Linked DNA regions of Homo sapiens: all the other regions are linked to region 1. The links are contacts of gene promoters, found by promoter capture Hi-C in human tissues and cell types (Jung and others, 2019). All regions are on one chromosome and are shown on one strand. The core of a region is centred on a gene start or on the middle of the fragment in contact, and the rest is flanking DNA. Distances in the headings are between cores, read along the strand shown.

Region 1 (3,446 bases), core at 643-3,142:
CTAAGGCCTTCCCCTAGAGAGCCGGCTCCCCACTGTTCCTTGGGACCAGCAAGCACAGCAAAAGCCCTTCTGGCCACAAGGGCCTAGCATACAGCCACAGCAGCCTCTCCTCAGTGAATTCTGCCGGCAGCCTGGTGTTCTTGGCAATTTCAGATGCTCCTGGGTGGTTAAAGAAGTACCTATCTTGGCCAGGTGTGGTGGCTCATGCCTGTAATCCCAGCACTTTGGGAGGCCGAGGCAGGTGGATCACTTGAGGTCAGGAGTTCGAAACCAGCCTGGCCAACATGGTGAAACCCTGTCTCTACTAAAAATACAAAAACAATTGGCCGGGCATGATGGCAGGCACCTGTAATCCCAGCTACTCAGGAGGCTGAGGCAGGAGAATCACTTGAACCCAGGAGGTAAAGGTTGCAGTGAGCTGGGATCATGCACTCCAGCTGTTGCACTCCAGCCTGGGTGACAGAGGGAGACTCCATCTCAAAAAAAACAACAACAACAACAAAAAAACCACGCACCACCACTGGGAATTAAGAGGGCTAAAAGGAGAGAGACCTGGTCCTCCCTTCAGGGAGCTATGAGTCTAGTGGAAACAACTGAACAATACAATGGCTACAAGCCAAGAAAGACATGACAAGCGCCTGGGGGAAAGCTAGAGGTCTTCCAAGCCTCTATCCTGCCACAGATGAAACAAGCATCTCACACGAGATTAAAAACTTTCACCCAGACCATCTGCCAAGTTCCCAAGATGCTCTGATCCGCCCCTAGATGTATTCCAGCTGCCCCCAAACGCCTGGTCCTCCTACAGCTTATCCCAGTCTAGACACCACGGCCCCACTTCCAACTGTCCCCATAAGTTCCATCAGAAACCTCATCAGGGGATCTGTGGCTAGCTCATGGGAAACTTTCCCAAGCAGGAAACCAATGCTTTCGCCTCCACTTCAACACCAGGGGCACGAGGGACCCCATCAGGAGCAGGAATAAAGTAAGTACATGTTTTTAAAAAGAATTAACAAAGCATCACAAGTTGCGGCTATCCTGTCTGCTAGCGAGGCCATGTTTGCCAGGGTCTCAGCCACCTCCAGGCCTCACCTGCAGAAGGCATCTCCGGCTCGTATCACCACAACGGGCTGCGCTTCCTTGCACTTCACACACTTCTGCTCACGGCTTTGGAGATGGGAGGGGGGAGAAGAGAGAAACACAGATCACATCTTCCCCACGCCTAGTGGGCTTTGGGGAGACAGCTCCTGTTTCTCACCCTGAGTTGGGTCAGAGAAAGGCACCTCGGTACACACACAAACCCAGGCTTGTGTTCTGTCCAAACTTCAAGAAAAACAAAGGCTCTGGGGGGATGTTTAGCCTAGAAAAGCCGGCTCAGGGGGCACATAAAGGCCGCTTTTCAGTCTCCCAAGGCTGACACGGGGAGGCGAGACAGCTTCACGGCACCAGTTCTCTCCGAATAAGGACAGCACTGTCAGCGGCAGAGCCGTCCCCAGTGGCTGCTAGGATGAGAGGCGCGAGCCAGTGGAGTAAGTCCCCTTCTAGGTGGCCGTCACCGCTTGACAGGCATTCCCCGAGTGCTAGGGAGCGAGGTCCCGCTCTCCACGCGGGGCTTCCCGGAGCAAGCCCGGCCGGGACCCTTCGGGGCAGGAGTGCGGCGGGAAGGCGAGGGGCGGCCTGGCGGGTCCGGCCGCCAGCTCTTACCTGGGCCGCGGCGCCGGGGGCGGCTCCTCAGGCGCCGGCTCCCCGTAGTCCTCGCCCACCTGACACATGGGCACGCCGGGTCCCGTCGCAGACTGTGGCGGCGACAGCGCGAGGGCGCGCCCCGATGACGTCGGAGTGGCGCCGTGACGGCCGCGAAGCCCGGCTGGGGGCGGCGCCCTACGATGACGTCAGCGCGGCGCAGTAGCGGCTGTGACTAGCGGGCCGGCCCGGGCCAGGACAGCGGGCGGCGGGCGGCGCGGGCCTGGCCCCGGGATGGCTATGTTCCGCAGCCTGGTGGCCTCGGCTCAGCAGCGGCAGCCGCCGGCCGGGCCGGCGGGCGGCGACAGCGGCCTGGAGGCGCAGTACACCTGCCCCATCTGCCTGGAGGTCTATCACCGGCCCGTGGCCATCGGCAGCTGCGGCCACACGTGAGCGCGCCCGCCCAGGGGCCGCGGGGAGGGGGCCGTGCCCCGCCGCGGGAGGGGTCGCGAGGCCGGCGGCCGCCCCGGTGCAGCTCCGGACTGGGCGCGCGGGGACTCGGGGCGCCGGGGCCTCGGGGCGCGTGGGGTCCGGGTTTCCCTGTGCCGCGCCGCCTCTGCCCTCTGGGCGCGTTCATCCCCCGCCCAGCCTCCTTCGCGCCAGCCGCAGGCGCCCGGTCCGACTGCTGCTTCGGTTCACCGGGCGACCTGCGGCCCTGCCCAAGCTCGGGGTCCCCGGCGGCTGCGGCGGGCGCTCCGGTACTCAGAGGGCAGCAGGTGCCACCGCTCCGCCAGTGGTGGTGGATTTGGGCTTGTGCGGCTGGAATGGGCAGTTGTAAATAAATAACTTGTAGTTTTTGCTATCAACTCTTGTTCGGACCCGCTGTCTGCCTGTTTTGACTACAGAGGAAAGGAGTTCCCTAAAGTTTAGAGGGGCTTGTTTGGAGTCTGATGTTCTTAGTTTTGTTTGAAGGAGAACTTGAGTCACACCGATCACTGAGTAGCCAGGCAGGCTGGTCCACAGAGGAGCAGACACTGACCACCTTGCTGGGGTTTCCAGCTGCACCAGGGCTCACAGCCGGCTCCTCCAGGGTGTTTCAGGAACAGAAACTGGAGGACGTGGCTCTCCTGGCGGGGAGCTGTGCTCAAGTATTCTGGAGCTGCCAGCCCCGTTGGGAGGAAGCCTAGATCAGTGTCTGCTCCCTCCTAAGTGCTGAATAATACAGCTCTTGAGCAAAATCAGCAGTGGCAGGGGAGAGAGAGAGCAGGAGGGCTTCCCCGCAGACATCCAAGCTGCTGAGGTGGTGGAGTGGAGGGGGGTGCACCCAGACTGGTAGGAGGCTCTAGAACATTTTGCAAGCAAAGTCAGCTGACTTCAGGGGCTCCTGGTACAGAGGGAGCTGGGACTGCTAGGTGGATGTGTGCTGGTCACCCACGGAGGTGGCAGGGCCAGTGTCAGGATGCAGAGCTGCCTTCATTACCTGTGTCAGGCAGCACAGGCGCCTGCCCACGCTGGGACAGCTCTACCTACTTCTCTTGTGAGGCTGCTACAGGCTCTGCCCCTGCTCCTCCATCTCACTTAGCCGTGACATTTTGGGGGGGCAGCCTCTGAACGGGAATATTTTTTTTTGAGACAGAGTCTTGCTCTTGTCACCCAGCCTGGAGTGCAGTGGCGCCATCTCGGCTCACCGCAACCTCCATCTCCTGGGTTCAAGTGATCCTCCTGCCTCAGCCTCCAGAGTAGCTGGGATTACAGGCACCCGCCAC
Region 2 (3,446 bases), core at 947-3,446, 1.2 Mb before region 1:
GTTGGGCATGGTGACGCATGCCTATAGCCCCAGCTACTCAGGAGGCTGAGGTGGGAGGATCACTTGAGCCAGGGGGGTGGAGGTTGCAGTGAGCCTAGATCATGCCAGTCCAGGCGACAGAGTAAGAGCCTGTCTCAAAAAAAAAATACAGAAAGGTCCCTGAGGCATTTGGGGCTTGTCCAAGCTTCCCACCTACTGCTTGCCTCCCTAACACTCTCTTTGAGGATCCCCCATTAATTTAGTTGCTGGCAGTCCACTTGAGTCGGGGACCTTGCTCCCCAAAGCACTGGGACACCCCAAATTTATGGTTCCAGGGAACCCACAACCACCAGCCCCTGTAAAGGAGGGGTGGAGAGAGTAACACATCTATGGGAAGTCCTCTGCAGAGCGAGGCACAGGGCAGCAGGAGCAATGGAGCAGAGTGGATTCAAGACCCAGCACGAGCACAGCTGTGGGCCAGGCGCGTGCCTCGCAGGACCTGTTTTCTCATCTGTGAGATGAACGTGTGAATGGTGCCCACATCCAGGCCTTAGCACAAAGCTTGACATGAAAACATTCAGCACATGTTGGCTTCATTTTGTTCAAATGTTTTAGATACTATTTAAAGTTTTAAAACCATATGCACAGGTCACTTAAAAAAAATGGACCAGAAGGATAGAAAAAGAAATTTGTTCCCACTTGGATAGAGAGAGGTGGCTAGATGGGCACCAGGTTTATCTGCAATATTTAAGGTTTTTTTTAACCAGGAGAATATATTAATTGCTTTTGTAGTTAAAATTAATAAAATTATAATTTGAGATAAAGTAATAAAATATATTGTTCCTTTTTTTTTTTTAGATAGGGTCTTGCTCTATTGCCCAGGCTAGAATGCAGGGGCATGACCTCAGCTCACTTTAACCTCTGCCCACCTCCCCCAGGTGATCCTCCCACCTCTGTCTCCCAAGTAGCTGGGACCACAGGCCGGCGTGCCTCCATGTCCAGCTAATTTTTTTTGTTTTTTATTTTTTGTAGGCACGGAGTCTTGCCATGTTGCCCAGGCTGGCCCTGAAGTGCTGACCTCAGGTGATCCACCCACCTCGGCCTCCCAAAGTGCTGGGATTACAGGTGTGAGCCACCGCACCTGGCCTATGTTACATATTTAATAAACAATAAAATATAATTTTATAAACTAAATTGTTAACATCACTACAGAAAAGGAAATCGGCCCGGCGTGGTGGCTCATGCCTGCAATCCCAGCACTTTGGGAGGCTGAGGCAGGTGAATCACCTGAGGTCAGGAGTTTGAGACCAGCCTGACCAAGATGGAGAAACCCCATCTCTAGTAAAAGTACAAAATAAGCCAGGTGTGGTGGCGGGCGCCTGTAATCCCAGCTACTCAGGAGGCTGAGGCAGGAGAATAGCTTGAACCCAGGAAGTGGAGGTTGCAATGAGCCGAGATCGCGCCACTGCACTCCAGCCTGGGCAACAAGAGCCAAACTCCATCTAAAAGAAAATAAGAAAAAAGGAAAATTGTGGCCAGGCGTGGTGGTGAGCGCCTGCGGTCCCAGCTACTCGGGAGGCCGAGGCTGCAGTGAGCCGAGATCGCGCCTCTGGACGCCAGCCCGGGCGACAGAGCCAGGCCTCCTCTCATAACCAAAAACAAAAACCTGGAAACACAAAGCAGAACCCGGCGTTCGAGGCCAGGCGCTCGGCCCGGGCGCTGTCCTTGGTGCTGACCTCGCGCAGCGCTTGGGGTCCTGGGGAAAGCGGGGCCGGGCTTTGAGGGCAGTGGCCAAGGCAGGTGGGAGCGGGGGTCCCCGATGAAGGGGCTGCGAGACTGGGGCCTCCAAGCCCCTCCAGGACCCGAATGCGGTTCCCGCCCGGCCCGCGGCTCCGCAGGTCTTTCAGGCGAGAGGGCGGGGCGAGCCAGGGACTCCGCCTCCCATTGGCTGAGACGGCCAGGCCCCGCCCCCAGCCCCGCCCCGCAGCCGCGAGGAGGCGGTGCCGCAGCCCGCGCGGAGGACAAAGGCTCCCCCCTCCGCCGCTGCAGGCGAACCCCGCCCCGGGGAGGGAGGAGCACAGGCCCCAGGAAAGCAAAGCCCGGGGGTCCAGATTCAGCTCTGCGGCAGTGGGGCAGCGTCCTGTGTCCCGCGGGCCCCGGTGTTTCTGCATAGCCCGGCCCGCCCCTGCCCCCCCCGGGGTGACTGCAGGCGGCCGCTCGGCTTTCCGGGCTTCGGGTTTTCTCATCCTCCCGGCGGGCTGCGCCCGGCTTACTGCATCCCCGCGAGCTGCCGGGGGCTCGGCTCCCAGCGCAGGGGTGACCGCGGTGAGTCGTCCGCGCTGCCGCGTGACCGCCCGGGACCCGGCTTTGCTCCCGGCCTCGAGTCACCCCGACTTCCCTCTGCCCAGAGTGCACGGGCCTTCCTGCCCAGCCAGGCACCGCCCGAGGACCCCAGACAGGGAAGCAGCCGCGTTGCACCCCCTATCAGCTGCGGGAGTGGAGGCCGAGAACGGCCAAGGAACTTCCCATTGATTCCACAAGGGCAGCAGAGCAAAGGAACACGCTCTTGCCGCCCCCGCCCCCGAGAAAATTTCCTTCTCTGTTGCTTTCATTGTTAAAAAGAATCAGATACTATTATTACTGTGAGACAGGATCTCACTCTATCGCCTAGTCTGGAGTACAGTGGTGCGGTCATAGTTCATTGCAGCCTCGACCTCCCACGCTGAAGCAATGCTCCCATCTCAGCCTCCCAGGTAGCTGGGACTACAGGCGCGGCCCACCACGCCAGGCTAATTTTTTTTTTTTTTTTTTTAAGAAACGGAGTTTCACCATGTTATCCCGGCTGGTCTTGAACTCCTTCGCTAAAGTGATCCTCCAGTTTCAGTCTCCCAAAGTGCTGGGATTACATGAGATTCCTCATCCACCGTGCCCGGCCAGGTATTAATTTTTAAAAAGAAATATATTAAGAAAAAACAAACAACTCAAAAGGAATAAAAAGTAGCGGGCAAACTAAGAGCTCCAGTGTTCAGAAGCAGAGCACAAGGCAGCCAAGGACACGGTCCAGGGGACAAGGGCTCCCTCTGCTACCCGTGGAGCCTCAGGGGATGTCTGCATGTGCACCTGACTTCTAGATCCCAGCTCTTGCCTGACAAGTGCCTTGTGGGACCACAGCTCTGGGCCCATCCCAGCCATAGAAGGAGAAACCCCAGGTGGGCCCCAGGGCTGCCTGCCCTCCCTCTCCCCAGAGACCCCTGACCCTCCCAGGAGCCCCAGGGCTGCCTGCCCTCCCTCCCCCCAGCGACCCCTGACCCTCCCAGGAGCAGATGCTCAGGGGAGGCTTGGCCCCAGTGACCACATTAATGAGCCCTCAGCCCCTCCCATCAGGCCAAGGCAGCTGTCAGAGGCTGCTCCGGGAGTCCTGGTTTGATTTGAGGCCACTGTCCCCCAGGTCTCCCCTCCCCCAGGCT
Region 3 (3,446 bases), core at 245-2,744, 1.0 Mb before region 1:
AGAGCAAGACTCCATCTCAGAAACAAGACAAAAACGCACTGAGAAGAACTGTTGACTTCGCACAGGCTGCGCCTTCTCTCCCTGTCCCTAATAACTGGTTTTCATGACCTAGCCACATGTCCCCCTCACCTGCCCTGCCTGCCTGGATTGGGTGGCCCCTTGTTTGTGAGTGGCTGGCCATGCCGTTCCCACAATGACCACTCACCTCCTCAGCACAGGAGGCTTCAGAGCACCCGCAGTCTCTGTGCCCTCGTGTTTGGGACGGGAATCTTTGCGGACCGGGTGGGCTGGGCTCAGGCCTCACTGCTGCCTGTCAGTTCTTTCCCCATGGGGGTGCAGGCCCTGGCCTTCCCCTCTGGCGGGAACCACTGACCCCTCATTAACACATCACAGAAGTCTCTTCTCATGCGCCCCCAGCTGAGGACACAGGCGGGCACGCCCGCTAGAACTCCAAGGTCAGGGTTGACAAGACTGGGAGGCAGCACACGGGCCGGGGGCTGTGCAGAGGCCCTTCTGGGTTCCCAGGGGGGTCTCACGGTGGCAGCTGGGGAACCAAGTGCCCCTGGTACTCGCCGCAGTCAGGAGGCCATGCTTGCTACCACCCAGTCCTGCCTCCTGCGCAGCGGTTTCCACTGAAGTCACCCCTTTTATTAGAGACCTCTGAAAACGTATCTCCCGTGTCTCTGTTCCAAAGCACGTCTTTGTCTGCACTCCTGGGGTCCCAGAGGGACTAGTGACACAGTCTGAGTGTGCTGTCCCTGTCACAGCAGCAGGGGCTCAGCAGAGAGGACCCTCCCCTCCTGAATCTGCCTCGATCCGGAAAAGGCTCGCCTGGCTCCTCCCATCCCAGCTCCCAGCCCTCCTCACACCAGCAGCCCCAGACCTTCTGGGCAGCAAGCCAGAGACACATTCTCAGGTGTCCTGGGATTCAGACTCAACCCGGAGGGTCACGGAGTGGGGGCTTCCGTACAGCAGCCTCAGGCGGCACTCCCAGCCATGACTCCTGGGAACAAGCCTGGGGGTAGGGACCCCCGGGCACCTTTTCTGGGCCTGACCAGTTTTCTGTTCATGCTGAAGCTGCTGCAGCCCCTCTGGCTCAGTCCTGCCCTCTGCTTCGCATCTCTCTCCGGGCCTCCTCCACTGCTCCCGTTTCTCTTTTCAGAACTTAACAGCATCAGAACTTCCATGAAAAAAGGCCGTTGACCTCTCAGTCTGCACAGCAGGGTTCTAGTGGCTGACGGTGGTGCTCAGAGCCACCTGCCCTCTGGACCTTTGTTCTGGGCTGTGAAATGCTCAAGGACAGGGACTGGGTCAGTCACCAACTACCTGGGAGTGTTCTGGGTACTGCTGGGTATAGGGCTGCAAAGAAAACAGCACAAGTGAAAACCAGCCCTCACTACCAGGGCCTGTGTTCTAACTGAAGAGAGAAAATAAAAATCCCTAAAAACAAAGTCAAAACAAGCTCACAGAAGTCATTCAACAGGGAAGTGGACCGTGGCTGCCTGGCCATGGACATCAGTGATGGGGTCAGAACTGGGAGGATGACAGAGCTGGGTCCTCGGGCCTCTGGGGACGCACACAAAGCAGAAGCGACGGGTTGGGGGCTTCGGGGGTACACTGGGGTGTGAACCCAGGGCAGGACCGGCAGAAGGGACGTAAGAGCCTCCTTCTCAAGCAAGGCGGGGTTCTGTCGACAGAGACACCTGCCATCCACTGCTGGGACTCTGAGGCAGCCTCACAGTGCCGAGACCAGGTCCCAGCTCCAAAGCACCAGGAGGACCCACCTTCTCACCTGCCCGCCTGCCCCTCCCCCGCCTCCCGCTCACTGAGGGAAGCCACGTTTCACTGGGCTCGGGAGATCCGCACACGAGAGAGTGAACTGAGTGGGCACCGGGGAGAGGCCCTGGAGCACAGGCGGGTGTCTAGGTCGCCCAACGGATGCCTCCAGCAGACCCCGGGCTGCCCACTTACTTCCTTTCTGGGTAAGGCTCAAAGGACTCGTCCGAAGACTGGGCATTTTGCTTCTTGTCATTTTCATCTTCACTCAAGACGTCTCTAGGAATTAAGAGAGAATCTTCAGCAAAGCCCTGGGCCTGGGCAGTGACAGACCCAACACGACCTCCTGCCTAAAGATACCAAATGGACCCCCATGTCCCACATTTGAGTTCTTCTGAAAATGTCTTAAATCTAAAATCCCCAAATTTCCAATCCCGTTTCCGAACACAAAGGGCCAGCCAGGCTCACAAGCCAGCAATCCCCACAAGCCATGTGCTCTGGGCACCAGGACACTGGACTTGGAAACAGCCCTTTCCACAGCGGCCCAGAAGGGGTGGAGGCGCTCAAAGGTAGCTTCCTGCTAAGCAGACTTTGAGAAATCGACCACCTCACCCCATAACTGCGAACCCTATGCAACTGATGGGTTTGCCATGAGTCACTTCTAAGTTCACAAAAGTGGCTGGGTGCAGAGGCTAACTCCTGTAATCCCAGCACTTTGGGAGGGTGACGTAGGTGGATCGCATGAGGTCAGGAGTTCAAGACCAGCCTGGCCAATACCGTGAAACCCCGTCTCTACTAAAAATACAAAAATTGGCCGGGTGCGGTGGCTAACACCTGTAATCCCAGCACTTTGGGAGGCAGAGGCGGGCGGATCACGAGGTCAGGAGATCAAGACCATCCCGGCTAACAAAGTGAAACCCCGTCTCTGCTAAAAATACAAAAAATTAGCCGGGCGTGGTGGCGGGTGCCTGTAGTCCCAGCGACTCAGAGGCTGAGGCCGGAGAATGGCGTGAACCCGGGAGGCAGAGCTTGCAGTGAGCCGAGATTGTGCCACTGCACTCCAGCCTGGGCAACACAGCGAGACTCCGTCTCAAATAAAAAAAAAATAAATAAATACAAAACTTAGCTGGGTGTGGTGGCGGGCGCCTGTAATCCCAGCTACTCGGGAGGCTGAGGCGGGAGAATCACTTGAACGCGGGAGGTGGAGTTTGCAGTGAGCTGAGGTCACACCACTGCACTCCAGCCTGGGCAACAGAGTAAGGCTCGGTCTAAAAAAAAAAGTTCACAAAAGGAAAAAAAAAAAAAAAAAAAGATTTGTGGCCTTTATGCTATAACCTCAGCTGCGGTTTTGTGTCCTGGTGGTCCTGAGGACAGTCTTAGCCACCCCAGGTGCCTCCTGGCACCTGCCCGATTTCATCACTGCACATCCCACTGGGATTGGCCCCCAAACTGGGGTGTCCTCATTTGGATGAGGTGCATCTGTGTTGCAGCCAAGGTTTACAGGAGAGGGTGGAAACGGTGCAAACCCCAGCCTGGCACAGCTGCCCTGAATGGCGCTTGGCTCAGAGGCAGGGGTGGCCCAGGGAGTTTGCAGACACTGATGAGGTCCCTTCTGAGGCCCGTCCTCCTGCAACACCTCCTCGCAGAGCCTCGGCTTCAAGCCACAACAG

What was found. Contacts are between HindIII fragments. The study calls those that stand out against the background at their distance.
Region 2: a contact is called between a fragment that was not itself captured here and the fragment with the promoter of RNF166 in region 1, in 1 of the 25 tissues and cell types used here (lymphoblastoid cells).
Region 3: a fragment that was not itself captured here is called in contact with the fragment with the promoter of RNF166 in region 1 in 1 of the 25 tissues and cell types used here (lymphoblastoid cells).

Annotation. Positions count from the first base shown.
Region 1 is chr16:88,704,854-88,708,299 of GRCh38, reverse strand. RNF166 (ring finger protein 166) reads left to right here and starts at 1,892. Exons shown (of 6, transcript NM_178841.4): 1 at 1,892-2,129. The coding sequence starts at 1,975. It overlaps CTU2 (cytosolic thiouridylase subunit 2), which reads right to left and starts at 1,797. Exons shown (of 15, transcript NM_001012759.3): 1 at 1,702-1,797; 2 at 1,090-1,164. The coding sequence starts at 1,769. RefSeq lists silencers at 1,529-1,838, 1,879-2,158 and an enhancer at 1,780-2,417. The HindIII fragment of the contact is 44,302 bases long and covers 1-3,446 here.
Region 2 is chr16:89,924,773-89,928,218 of GRCh38, reverse strand. The region is part of intron 1 of TUBB3 (tubulin beta 3 class III); the gene reads right to left. Among named protein-coding and RNA genes, the nearest start is that of TUBB3, 3.2 kb to the right of the region's middle. RefSeq lists a silencer at 1,621-2,280 and an enhancer at 2,047-2,947. The HindIII fragment of the contact is 3,668 bases long and covers 363-3,446 here.
Region 3 is chr16:89,727,844-89,731,289 of GRCh38, reverse strand. It overlaps ZNF276 (zinc finger protein 276), which reads right to left. Exons shown (of 11, transcript NM_001113525.2): 6 at 1,972-2,055. Among named protein-coding and RNA genes, the nearest start is that of ZNF276, 8.0 kb to the right of the region's middle. RefSeq lists enhancers at 1,755-1,924, 2,062-2,633. The HindIII fragment of the contact is 6,200 bases long and covers 1-3,446 here.